Linked DNA regions of Homo sapiens: all the other regions are linked to region 1. Evidence: promoter capture Hi-C in human tissues and cell types (Jung and others, 2019). All regions are on one chromosome and are shown on one strand. The core of a region is centred on a gene start or on the middle of the fragment in contact, and the rest is flanking DNA. Distances in the headings are between cores, read along the strand shown.

Region 1 (4,127 bases), core at 709-3,208:
CTGCATCAGTTCTGGTGTGACCTCTTACGGTTGCCTTACTTTGTTCTCAGATAAAGCAAACGCACAAAAATTTGTTTTCTGGGCTTAACAAAACAGGAGTGACCAGTTAGGTCAGAAGACTGGAACATCAGTGAAGTGGATGTGTGGTAGGCGGAGGGGAAAGACTTGCTAGAAGCCCTCCCGCTGCGGGGGGCTCCTTCAGAAATGGCTCTGCCTCTAGCAGCTCTGCCTGGACACTGAGCAGGGAAAGGGTCCCGACACTCATTAGTAACAGTGGTAAGTCAGAGAACCAGCCCTGAGCCTGTGTCCCCAGCCCTGCCGGGGGCCAATGCCTACTGAGCACTTCCCACAGGCCAGTTCCTGGGTGATGAGTTTTACCAACATGTATTTCCCTTTTACTTTTGAGGAAAATGAAGGTGGGCTCAGTCACAGAGATAGTGCATGCTCCAAAGCCAGTGTCTTTCCTGTCTCCTCGGTTGGCCTGCCCCATCCTAGCGATGTTGTGAAGATTGGGACTACCTCTAAAGCAGCACACAGTGGCTGCTCAGTAAATGCTCAACACTGGTAGGTGCTGTGGGCCAAGGTGGAGAGAAACGGGCCATCTGGAGCAGGAAGCAGCTGACTGCAGAAGTCCTGTCTGGGCCCCCAGCAGTCTGGGTGACTGAGCAAATCTTGGAACCTCTCAGTCTATTTCCCCATATTACATAACACCTGGCTACAAAAGGGCTTTTTTCTTTTTTGAGAGGGAGTCTCGCTCTGTCGCGCAGGCTGGCATGCAATGGCACCATCTCCGCTCACTGCAACCTCCACCTCCTGGGTTCAAGCGATTCTCCTGCCTCAGCCTCCTGAGTAGCTGGGATTACAGGTGCGCGCACCACACCCGGCTATTTTTTGTATTTTTAATAGAGACGGGGTTTCACCGTGTTAGTCACGCTGGTCTCGAACTGCCGACCTCTGGTGATCCGCCCACCTCGGCCTCCCAAAGTGCTGGGATTACAGGCATGAGCCACCACACCCGGCCTACAAAAGGGGTTCTTCTGGGACCCGATCGTCTAAACTCTTCTCCATTTGACCCCCTCCATCACTACTCCACAGCTCACCGGTCTTTTCTCTGTTCCTTAGGTGCCCGTCCTGTCTCCAGGCCTTTGTACATACCATTCGTCTTGCCTTGTTTGCCCTGCCCTCACACTTGGCACATCTGGCACCTCCCCTGCACATTCTAAGACAGCATCCTTCCGTACCATTTGACCCACCCCGTTTTTTCCACCACAGTACTCATCCATATTATAACCCTTTATTCACATTTTGTCTTTTATCTCAGTCAGGAGGAAGCGAGGGCGGGGGACTCTGTGTTGTTCCCTACCGTACCCTCAGCGCACAGTCTGGTTCAGAAAATACTCGAGAGTGAATGAGAGAATGAATGAAGGAAAAAATGAGTGGAGGAGGGGTCTTTGGCCGAGCTAAAGAGCCTGGGCGCCGCGGGGGCGGGAAGCTCTAGGCAGTGCTCGTCGCGCACCGCCCCCAGAGTAAAGCGAATTTCAGAAGAGGGCGTGGGGCCCTGGGCGTGTGGGGCCCTGGGCGTGTGTGACCCGGGCCAAGTCCAAGTCCGCAGGAGGCTGCGCGGGAAGCTGCTTATAGCTACGACCCGCGGCCCCCGGCCTCTAGCCCCACCGCCGCCAGGCAAGGGCAGGGACGCCAGGTCAGTTACAGGCTCGGGTGCGGCAGCCGGCGACCAAAGGCACTGGGCGGGAGGCCGGATCCAAGGGGATACTGCTACGTAGCTGCAGCGGAACCGGCAGGCTCTGCGGCGAAACACACTGGGACTTGTAGTTCTCGGCTCCTCTAGACGCTGTCGCGAGCCCCCAGATAAAGAGGCACTTCGCGGTGACGGGGAACTACATTTCCCAGAAGGCCGGAATATGTTGGGGGTCACCGGGAAAGCGCCCCGACTGGCGGCACTTACCCGGCTCTATAGGTCCGGTTCCGGGGGCGCGTGGCTGCAGCGGGGCCCGCGTGGTGCCTCCTGAGGCGGCCCCCGGATGAAGAGATCTGGGAACCCGGGAGCCGAGGTAACGAACAGCTCGGTGGCAGGGCCTGACTGCTGCGGAGGCCTCGGCAATATTGATTTTAGACAGGTACTGACCGCACCGGACCGCCGCGGAAACTGGGAGAGGGATCTGCAAGGCCCGAGGGGCGTGAAGGCTTGCGGCGCCTCAAACGCTGCGGGGCGGGGCCGCCAGTTCCCAGGCAATGGGGGCGTGGCGTGGCGGGGGTGGGGGAGCCGCGTGCGGGAGCGCCGGCTGGTGTCTGTGTGTGTGCGTGTGCGCGCGCGTGTAAACCTCAGATTGCGTGTGTCAGAGACGGGGGCGTTCCTGAGCTCGTCTGATTGTGTGCCTGTGTGTGGCCCTGAGATTGTGTGAGACTCAGAGGTTGTCCGTGTTAGTCTTTGGGATTGTGTCTCACTGAAATTATGTGATGCTCTGAGAGTGTGCCGGAGAGTGAGTGTGAGTGTGTATGACCGAGGCTGTGTGTGACTGAGCGTGGGCGAGGGTGAAGGAGGCCGATTATATGTTTGGGAGTGTGTTGTGTGGCCCCTGCTCCCGTCCATCCCCCAGGGTCAGGAGGCCAGCTTTTGCCCAGAGGCAAGAGAGTGGTGGGGACCCTGCCTGTCTCCCAGCCGGCCCTGGGCAGGCTGCAGACCACCACCCAGCCGTTTCGGGGCCATAATGGGTGCGACCGGCCCCAGAAGCTGGGGGCCTGGCTTGCCTGCTGAGGCTGCCCTCTGCAGAGTCCTAGGCCAGAGAGTGCCTGTCCTGGCATCTCCCCAGGCTCCCAATTCCAATGGATTCCAATTTCCAACCTCTCTTGCATTCTCCCTTCTATCAAAGCTTCCTCTTAGATGCTCCATTTACCTTTTTCATCACCCACTCTTCATGAAGCCTGTAAGGCACATCTCTGCCCCAAGCAGCTTCTAATCCAGTTCTTTCGCTCCCTTCATTCCTTACTCACATGTGCATTTATTCACTCACTGATCCAGCCAGTATTGATTCAGGGCCGGCTGAGGGCCTCGTGTCACTCAGAAGTTTAAGGGCACTTCTGTCACTGAGCTTTCATTCTAGGGAGGGAGATTGTAGGCCTGGAAAGCCAGAGAGTTCTCTGAAGGAGCTAATACCAGTTAGTGTTTTGAAGAGTAGCTGATGGGAAGGCGGGATTGAAATCCCAAGAGAGCCTGTTGCCGTATCTGCGAGGGAGGGACCTGGGATCTGAGAGCCGAAAGGTCAGTCAGTGGGGCAAGATTCCCCAGAGGAGGGAGGCAGTTGCGAAGCCCTCCAGGAGGCACAGGAGGAGATGGGCCGCTGGCCCTGAGGGAGCGCAGGACCGTTGGCCAGATGGGTGCTCAGCAGAGGACAGGAAGAAGACTATTACTTTAGTAAACTGTCCATTGAATTACAACATGCAGTCAGATGAGTGATGGGTCCTACCCCTACAGCTCCTGCATTTTCACCAGGTGAACCTGTATCTGTTAATCCTCAGATCAAGATGGGGGGTCATGATCACCTCCAGGGGCTGCCCTCAGAAGCCACCGTGTAGAAGGGTGGGTGGGGGAGCCATGTAGAAGGGGGGGCAGAATGCAAGGGGGCAGTGTCCCTTTGCAGACCCATCTAGGGGCCTGCCCCAGGGCCTGCCAGTGGGCAGGGGAGACTAACCGGGTGTGTGAGGGGTGGGCTTCTCTGCTCTTTCTCCTTTCTCCCCAGGGCTGTGCAGCTGGAGAGAGCTGGGGCTGGGGTTCGGGTCAGGGTGACCCTTGTTGACTAACATTCTGCTTTTCTTCTGCTGTCCTTGTTGGTGCAGTTAAGCTTCCTGTTGCCAAGGGATTTTTCTTAAAGAAAGAAAGAAAGAAACATACAACATACAACATTACATATTTGCTTATGTGGTAGCTCTACTCCCTCCTCAATCAAAATCTCCGGTTTTAAAATATGTCAGTCCCTGGCCTGGGAGAGTTGCAAGGTTTTTGTTCACCCCATGGGCGTCTGAGCTGCAGGATCTCCGGTGCTAGCCCTGTGCTGCTGTGCTGTCCAGTAGAAACATCGTGTGCCACATGCATAATTTAAACCTTTCTAGTA
Region 2 (4,127 bases), core at 527-3,026, 290 kb after region 1:
CCACGTTAATACACTCCCGGGCGGATATATGGTGTCCAGACTCCCCATGCCGAGCGCTGCCTATAAATGAACACTCGCCACACACTGGAGCCTATTCCTGAGGCTGCAGAAAGTACCAGGGCATTTTCTCCAGTTTAAAGTTTATCATTAGGCATCCGCTGTAGAAGAGCTCAGCACACTGGGCTCTGTGAAAGTCACCTTCTGAAGTGCCTGGTGTTGATGGAGACAAACGGTACTTGGTTTCCTTTTTTAACACCTGTCCCTCAACAAACCACATTACTGATGAGGCATCTTTCTGATGTCAGAAGAAATGTCACTTGTTAGAGACAGTAGTACAGAGAACAGGACTGTGGAGTGGGGAGCACTAACTGTGCTTGGGAGGCAGACAGACTTGGGTTTGAGTCCTGACTGAGCCCCTGAGCAGCATGTGACTTGGGGCAAGTTTCCTCATCTGGAAAACAGAGATAATAATATCTACCCAACAAAAGAGAGGATGCAGTGAACTTGTGGCTAAAAAACGGGCTCTTGTAACTTCCTTCTCCTCTTTATCAAACCCTCCAGCAGCAACCCTAGGTGGCCAATCAAGGGATGCCAAAAAACACTCAGCCTCTTTAATTTTGTGCATACCAAAATCCCCTGTTCCTTTTGCAAAATACTTCAAATTTACCAACCAAGATCTGTGTGTAAACGTCCCTCCTTGGATCTTTCCCCTCTATCCATCCTGGACAGAACACCTCGGGAGTCGGATGGTAGGGGTTGAGCTCAGGTGTTCAGCAAGGCCAGCTCTGCAAGGGGATAAGACATGAGGTGGATCCCACCTCACCTGGACCACTGACTCACTGTGTGACCCCCAGAAAGTCACACAACCTCTCTGGGCCTCAAATACCCCTGGAAGCTATGCTTTCATGGACAACAGTAAAAAAGATGGGTAAAGACACCCATCAAAGTCCTGGGGACAAAGAAGTGGGAATGTGACTGCGGTCGGGGTGAAAGAGGACAACTTATAACGTTTATTTTTCTAAAAATTTAACAAACGACTTGAGGCCAAATATGCCACAAATTTTGAAGTCAGCTTTAAATGCAGAGTTAGGTATATTAACACTTTGTACTCTCCCGCATTTTCAGAAACCTTGGATGGCAGCCAACAGATCCTGAGCGCGGGGCCGCATCTTCCCGGTGCGCTGTGGCCCCTAGTCCCCCCCAGACCCTATTCTATCAGAGGGCCACCCCGAGGCTGGGGCGCTGACCGTCCAAGGTCACCGGCGCAGGGGCGGTGTCTGGGGCTCGGGGCGAGAAGGAGGCCCGGCGCGGGGCGGGGCGGGGACGCTCACGCTCAGCCCTGGCCGCAGGCGGCCGTACTGCTCCGACACCCAGAAGCCGCGCCGGTCCTCCAGCGCGATGAAGGGCTGGTCGGGAAAGCGCGCGCGGAACTTCCTGAGGAATCCGCCCTCGAAGTCAGCCAGCACGCCGTCCATGTCCACCAGCACCCGTAGGGCGCGGCCTCCCGCCAGGCCCAGCCCGCCCGCCGCCCCGCGCCGCCCCGCGGGAACCGCCGCGCTGCAGAGCCGCCGCGCACACCAGCCGCCCAGCCGGATCATGGCCCAGCGCGCTGGCCCGTCGTGGGCGCGGGGACCTGGGCCGCGCCGTGCTGCCGGAGCCGGCCAGACATTCCCGCCGCGGAGGAGAAGCCCCCAACGCTGGGGCGCGCGTGGAGCGCGGGACGGGGAGCGGGGCGGGGAGCGCGGGGTGCGGGCGCGCAAGTACCGGCCCCAGAGCGAGGCCGCGGCGCGCGCGGTCCCTAAAGGAACACGCGCCGGCGGAGGCGGAGCCCCGGGGCGGGGCTTCGAGGACGGACAGCGGTAAGCGCCGCGCGCCTCCAGAAGGTCCGCGCTCCCGCGCTGTCGATTTGCGTCTTCTCCGTGGACCCTGGGCCCGGGCTGCCTTCTCCCACTGCACAGACTACCATGGAGGAGCAGTGCAAACCGAGAAGCAGGCCTGTGTCGTTAGACATTTTTGAGCACTAACTGTGTCGAGTGTGAACCAAATAGACAAAGTTCCTGCCATCCTGGAACTTACGTTTTAGAAGGGGATCCAGACAACAGGATGGAGGAACAAAAACAGGGTGCACTCTGAAAGCCTCTCTGCTTTATTTACAGCAAATGTCTGCGGAGAGACTGATAGAACCAATATCTGCTAACATCATACAGCCTTAGTAAAACTGATGATTCTCAGGTAAATATATGAATAAATATTAAGTACCCCTGTATTGCTTTTTTTTTTTTTTTTTTTTGGAGACGGGGTCTTGCTCTGTTACCCAGGGTGGAAGCAGTGGCATGATCTCGGTTCCCTGCAGCCTTGAGTTTCTGGGCCCAAGGGATCGTCCTGCTTCTGCCTCCTGAGTAGCTGGGACCACAGGGGCCTGCCACCACACCCTGGTAATTTTTTTTTTTTTTTTTTTTTTTTTGAGACAGGAGTCTTCCTATGTTGGGCTCAAACGATCCTCCCACCTCAGCCTCCCAAAGTGCTGGGATTACAGGCGTGAGCCACCGCGCCCGGCCTCTTTTCAACTTTTAAGTACAGGGATACATGTGCAGATTTGTTATATAAATTGACTGTCTTGGGGGTTTAGTGTACAGATTATTATTACCCAGGTAATAAGCGTAGTTCCTGATAGGTAGTTTTTCCATCCTCACCCTCCTCCCACTCTCCACCCTCAAGTAGGTCACCGTGTCTGTTGTCCCCATCATTACGTCCATGTTTACTTAATGTTTAGTTCCCGCTTTTAAGTGAGAGCATGAGGTATTTAATTTTCTGTTCCTGTGTTTGCTTAGGATAATTGTCTCCAGCTCCATCCATATGGCTGCAAAAGACATGATCTTATTCTTTTTTTATGACTGTGAAGTATTCTATGGTATATATGTACCACATTCTCTCCCTTTTTTTTTTTTTTTTCTTGATAGGGAGTCTTGCTCTTGTTGCCCAGGCTGGAGTGCAGTGGCAGGATCTCGGCTCACTGCAACCTCCACCTCCCAGGTTCAAGCGATTCCCCTGCCTCAGCCTCCCAAGTGGCTGGGATTACAGGCGCCCACCACCACACCCAGCTTTTTTGCATTTTTAGTAGAGACAGGGTTTCACTATGTTAGCCAGGCTGATCTCCAACTCCTGACCTTGTGATCTGCCCGCCTCGGCCTCCCAAAGTGCCGGGGTTACAGGTGTGAGCCACCGCACCCGGCCGATTTTTGTATTTTTAGTAGAGACAGGGTTTCACCATGTTGGCCAGGCTGGCCTCAAACTCCTGACCTCAGGTGATCCGCCCCACCCCCCTCGGCCTCCCAAAGTGCTGGGATTAAAGGCGTGAGCCACTGCACCCAGCCTGTGTTACAGCTCTTTTAGCCCCACCATTTGGCAGGTCCCGAGTTCTTGTCCTGCATCCAGGAAGAATGGGGTAGGCAGACAAGTGGAGAGTGAGCAAGACGAAGAGGAGCTTTATTGAGCAACAGAATACTTCAGAAGAGACCTGCAGTGGGCAGCTCCTCTCCATAGCCAGGGTTTCCCCACAAGTGTTCAGCTTTCAGCAGAGAGGGTAGCTCCTCTCTGGTAGGCAGTTCATCCCAACAAGTGTCCAGCTCTCAGCAGAAAGGGTAGTTCCTCTCTGCAGCTGGTTTTCTCCCCATCTACCCGTCCTCTCTTTGAGTCTGGCTGAGTCCAGGGTTTTTTATGGACCTCAGAGGGGAAGAAGTGAGTGCTGATTGGTCCATGGGCGGCCATAGGTGGCCATGAGCAGGCCTGGGGAAAAGCACCACAAGTTCCCCGCTCTGGTACTGGGACTGGTGACCTGGCCCCCAGGCTTCAGGCCCTTCCAGGATTGAAGGTGGGGCTTCACCAGGGACCCGCCCCCTTCCACCGAGGAGCTGTCTGCATTCCTGCTGCTGTTCATGGCGCCCAGGCTGTTCATGCCAAGGGGTACCTGCAGGCCAACACCAGGCTGTCCTCATGCCCCCCTCGGCCGTTCTCCGATGCTTGTTGGCACCCAAGTCCGGAGGGGGCCAAGGAGGCAGGGGGCTGGCGTGTCAGTGCTGCCCTGAGCGTGTGCACTCCCGGCTGGGCTGTGACGGCGCCCTAGCTCG
Region 3 (4,127 bases), core at 537-3,036, 260 kb before region 1:
GCAAGGGGCATCTGCCTGCCACCCAGCTTGGGCTGGTGCCCTCTGCACAGCTCTGCTGTCAGCCTGGGCAGGTCTCCTGCCACCTCTCATAGTAGCAGCATACTGCTGCTCTGCGTGAGAAGGCAGTTCCTCCACTAGACCCCAAGCCCATTCTTAGAGAGATGTGCTGGCCCAGGCCTCTCATTTGCTTCTTCAGGGACAGGCTGGCCTCTGGCCCACATGTCAGGGGCCTTTGCAGCAGGGCTTCTGGAAACCATGTCCATTCATTGGGAAGATCCAGCCCACATGCCCTTGTGCCTATTAATCCTGCAAAAAAGGATACTGCCCACACAAACTCCCCTGAGGGTGGCCTTGGCAGCTGGTGGTGGTGCCTGTCTCTGCCCACACAGACTGCCTCGCCACTGCCAGGTCCCACGTAGAGCTCCAGTCTCTAACTTCCCAGAAACAAACCTAACTAACAGCTAACCTGGTGTCTTGCCTGACTGACTGCAGTTTGTTTTTTTTTTTTTCTTTACAACAAATATTAATTGCTTTGCCTTATTTCCCATAGTGTAGAAACCTTGAGTCTTTTCAAGCCTCCTGAGTACAAATTCTTTACTTGGAAACTTTTTGTACTATTGAGTGAGATCAAAGGCTTTTAGACTTGGTCCCAGTGGGGTGGTGCTTGAAGTGACATAGGAAGGGATTCACAGCTTCTCTGGAAATAGTACACCTGAGCTACAGAAATTGTTCTTGTTACATTGAAAACTGGACAGGTGGGTTTCCTTGTGGGCATGGGGCTGTGGGAAGCTGCAGAGGAGCATCTGTTGGAACCCTTATGCTCCTGGGACTCAGGTGTGTGGATAGCCAACACAGAAGTTAACTGACACCACCAGGCTTATTACTGGTTGAAGAGAAATGAGACTTGTCAATGGGCTAGGGCCGGGCGGCTCTCAGGGAGACTGCTAGGCTTGTGCTCTCCCTCCCTGGCCTCTCTAGTGTGAGGTCTTTTTGCCTCTCTTGGCTGGTGATCAGCTAGGGGTGTCTCCCTTTTGCAGGGTGCAGCCAGGAAAATATCCTCATGTGAGAGAATCTAAGTCAAAACAAGAACAGAGGTAGGTTAGTAAAGAATGCTGCTGCCAAAACCCAGGCTTGGGTTTGGAGGGCGGGACTCCCTCCTCAGACCTGGAGGCCCCCAAGGCTCTTACTCTGGAAGGATAATCCTAACCCCTGGAGTACCAGACAGACATGCCTCTCCCCCTTGGGCAGGCAACCCTCCCTCCTGATCCCTGAGGCAGAGCTGCCCCTGCCTGCAGTTCCAAGTGAGAATCAGCTGACAGCAGGATGGCTCACCTGCCACTCAGATCAAAACCTGTGGCTTCTGACATCCAAGATGTCTGTGGACTTTGAAAATGGGCAGGGCTGGTCTAACCACTGCCTCAGCCAAGCCAGCCTGGCCTACCTATCTTCAGAGGGGCTGAGCTTCAGGCAGCAGTCTCTATTGGAGGGCATTCCTCTGCTAGCTTCCTTCCTTTTCTCTCTTCACATGTCTTCTTCCTTTCTGTCCCTCTCTTCCAACTCATACGCTTCTTCAGATCCCTCAGACCAGCCTTCAGCTTGGATCATTGCCCAAGAAAATGCTGAAACTATGGCATGTCAGGCTGGGTGCAGTGGCTCACATCTGTAATCCCAGCACTTTGGGAGGCCAAGCTGGGCAGATCATTTGAGGCCAGGAGTTTGAGATCAGCCTGGCCAACATGGCAAAACCCTGTCTCTACTAAAAATACAAAAAAAAAAAAAATTAGGCAGGTGTGGTGGCTCACGCCTGTAATCCCAGCTACTCAGGAGGCTGAGGCACAAGGATTATCTGAACCTGGGAAGCAGAGGTCGCAGTGAGCTGAGATCGCACCACTGCACACCAGCCTGGGCAACAGAGCAAGACTCTGTCTCTAAATAAATTAATTAATTAAATAAATAACTAAATAAATAAATAAAAATAAAAATAAAACTATGACACATCAGAGCCAACAGCCTTCTTAGGAATCTGCTGGGCCAGCCCCTAGTCTGACAGATGAGGATACCGAGGCCTCCTAAGGGCCTGGTGTCTTGCCCAAAGCTGCAGGGAAGAAACAGAGTCCCCTAAGACTCAGCGCAGTGCCCCCTGCTCCAACCAGGGCCCCACTTCCCTCCCATCAGCCTGACAAGGAGCGCGTCCTCGGCCTCCCACAGTTTCTTTGGTTCATATTTTCCAAGCAGTGTACATGTTTAGTCTGAGTCTGATAGCACCTACATTATTAGAAGGAACTTTGCCCTGTTATAATACTCAAGGCATTTATTTACCAGGACAAGAGGTTTAGATAGCTAAGGTTTTGTGTCTGGCCACAAGAAAGTCAATTTAAGCTTACGTTATATAAGCTTAACTGTTAACCATCACCCTGCTCCACCATGGTTCACGCCCTGAGGCCAAGTGGCTTCTATATTGTAATGAGTCAGTTTCCATAATTTCTGACATCCCTGGGTTTCTGAATTAGAAAACAGAAGCACCAACCTGAAAGTTAAGGTTTCTGAGTCATAAGAATTGAAAGCCAAATACAATCTAGCAATCGCCTTATTTCACAGATGAGGAAATTGAGGCCAAGCATTGCTCAGGCCTCTGTCCCCTGCTCCTGCCTCTCCACCCAAATCTCTAAGGCTTCTTAGGATAGAAGAAACTCAGGAGCTCTCCGGTGAAGAAAGTGGGGTCCAGAGAGGAGCGACTCACCCCAGGTCCTGCCACCAGTGAGTGTGAGGGCCCAGATGGACCCCACCCAGTGCACTCTCCTCAGCGTGCCCTCTAGGGCTTGGTCTGGAGGATGCCATTCCATAAACATACTACTTATTTGGAAAAATCTAGGACATGGAAGAAAAGGGTTCCCATGAGCCAGCTTTTGGGAAGTTATTTTTGAGGAGGTGAGGAATTTCTTAAGTGTCATTGTTTATTTTCTGAGCATGTTGGCTCTCAAGATTTATCCCCAAAGAAGAAAATTAAAGTATGACCCCAGGCCTCAAGGGATTTGTTCTTTAGCAGCAACAAAACAATTACAAGAAAAATCTGAAGGTTTAAGGCCCCTGACCCCTTAATGTCTTTGTTGTAGCTTTTGCAACACATTGGAAAGCTCAGGACATCTAGTCTGTTTCTGCTAAGTGGACAAAAGCTGGTCAGGTGTAAAGAAAGGGCTGGTGCACACTCTAACCGCTAGTGTGGGACTATTTTCTCTCTGGAGATGCTGCTGACTTTCTAAGCTTCAGTTTTGGGGACTCAGCATGGCATGCGTCCTCCCAGAGGCCACACATTCTGACTTACAGTCATTGAGAGCATGATAACTGGTGTGTCCTGTTCCAGGAATGTCTCAAGGCAGAAGGCCTGCCAGCAAGCACAGAGTAGCAGTGTACCCTACTGCCTTTTGATGGGCAAGGGCAAGGAAGTGCCAGCCTTAGGCATTGTTAACACATCTGTCAGTCATTTGTGCGTCCATCCCCCCAGTGAGGACCCACATGCCTCCTGTCCCTAGGTTTCATGTCTGGGTGATAAGACTCCCTGATACCTTTTCAATTCAATGTTCTTTTTTTTTTTTTTTTTTTTTTTTTTAGACAGAGTTTCAGTCTTGTTGCCCAGGGTGGAGTGCAATGGCGTGATCTCGGCTCACTGCAACCTCTGCCTCCCAGGTTCAAGTGATTCTCCTGCCTCAGCCTCCCCAGTAGCTGGGACTACAGGCGCATACCACCACACCCAACTAATTTTGTATTTTTAGTAGAGACTGGGTTTCTCCCTGTTGGTCAGGCTGGTCTCAAACTCTTGACCTCAGGTGATCTGCCCGCCTCGGCCTCCCAAAGTGCTGGGATTACAGGCATGAGCCACCGTGCCCTGCTCAATTCAACATTCTTAACTCCCCAGTAAGTCAAAGAAATAATGAGCAACACAGACTCTTCCTAATCTGATCAGTGACTGGCTTGGGCCTTTCTGAAAGTGCTCTTGTGGGCTTCCCACATTGGGTCCGAAGTTAGGACACAGAGCACATTCCTCAGAGCAAGGGGCCAGCTGAGCTCACTGAGGGAGTGAAGAGCTCTGGTGGCATCGTAGATACCTGCTCAGAGTGCTGGACTCTACC

What was found. The method cuts DNA at HindIII sites, captures the fragments that hold promoters and counts their contacts. A contact is called where the count stands out against the background at its distance.
Region 2: the fragment with the promoter of NT5M here is called in contact with the fragment with the promoter of PEMT in region 1 in 3 of the 25 tissues and cell types used here (IMR-90 fibroblasts, dorsolateral prefrontal cortex and mesendoderm cells).
Region 3: a fragment that was not itself captured here is called in contact with the fragment with the promoter of PEMT in region 1 in 5 of the 25 tissues and cell types used here (IMR-90 fibroblasts, dorsolateral prefrontal cortex, hippocampus and 2 more).

What each region holds. Positions count from the first base shown.
Region 1 is chr17:17,589,539-17,593,665 of GRCh38, reverse strand. It overlaps PEMT (phosphatidylethanolamine N-methyltransferase), which reads left to right and starts at 1,958. Exons shown (of 7, transcript NM_148172.3): 1 at 1,958-2,135. The coding sequence starts at 2,040. RefSeq lists enhancers at 1,817-2,206, 1,772-2,513. The HindIII fragment of the contact is 9,919 bases long and covers 1-3,373 here.
Region 2 is chr17:17,301,022-17,305,148 of GRCh38, reverse strand. It overlaps NT5M (5',3'-nucleotidase, mitochondrial), which reads right to left and starts at 1,776. Exons shown (of 5, transcript NM_020201.4): 1 at 1,332-1,776. The coding sequence starts at 1,598. RefSeq lists silencers at 1,207-1,396, 1,527-1,626, 1,677-1,846 and an enhancer at 3,820-4,127. The HindIII fragment of the contact is 23,347 bases long and covers 1-4,127 here.
Region 3 is chr17:17,852,345-17,856,471 of GRCh38, reverse strand. All of the region lies in intron 12 of TOM1L2 (target of myb1 like 2 membrane trafficking protein), which reads left to right. Among named protein-coding and RNA genes, the nearest start is that of SREBF1, 17 kb to the right of the region's middle. The HindIII fragment of the contact is 7,112 bases long and covers 1-4,127 here.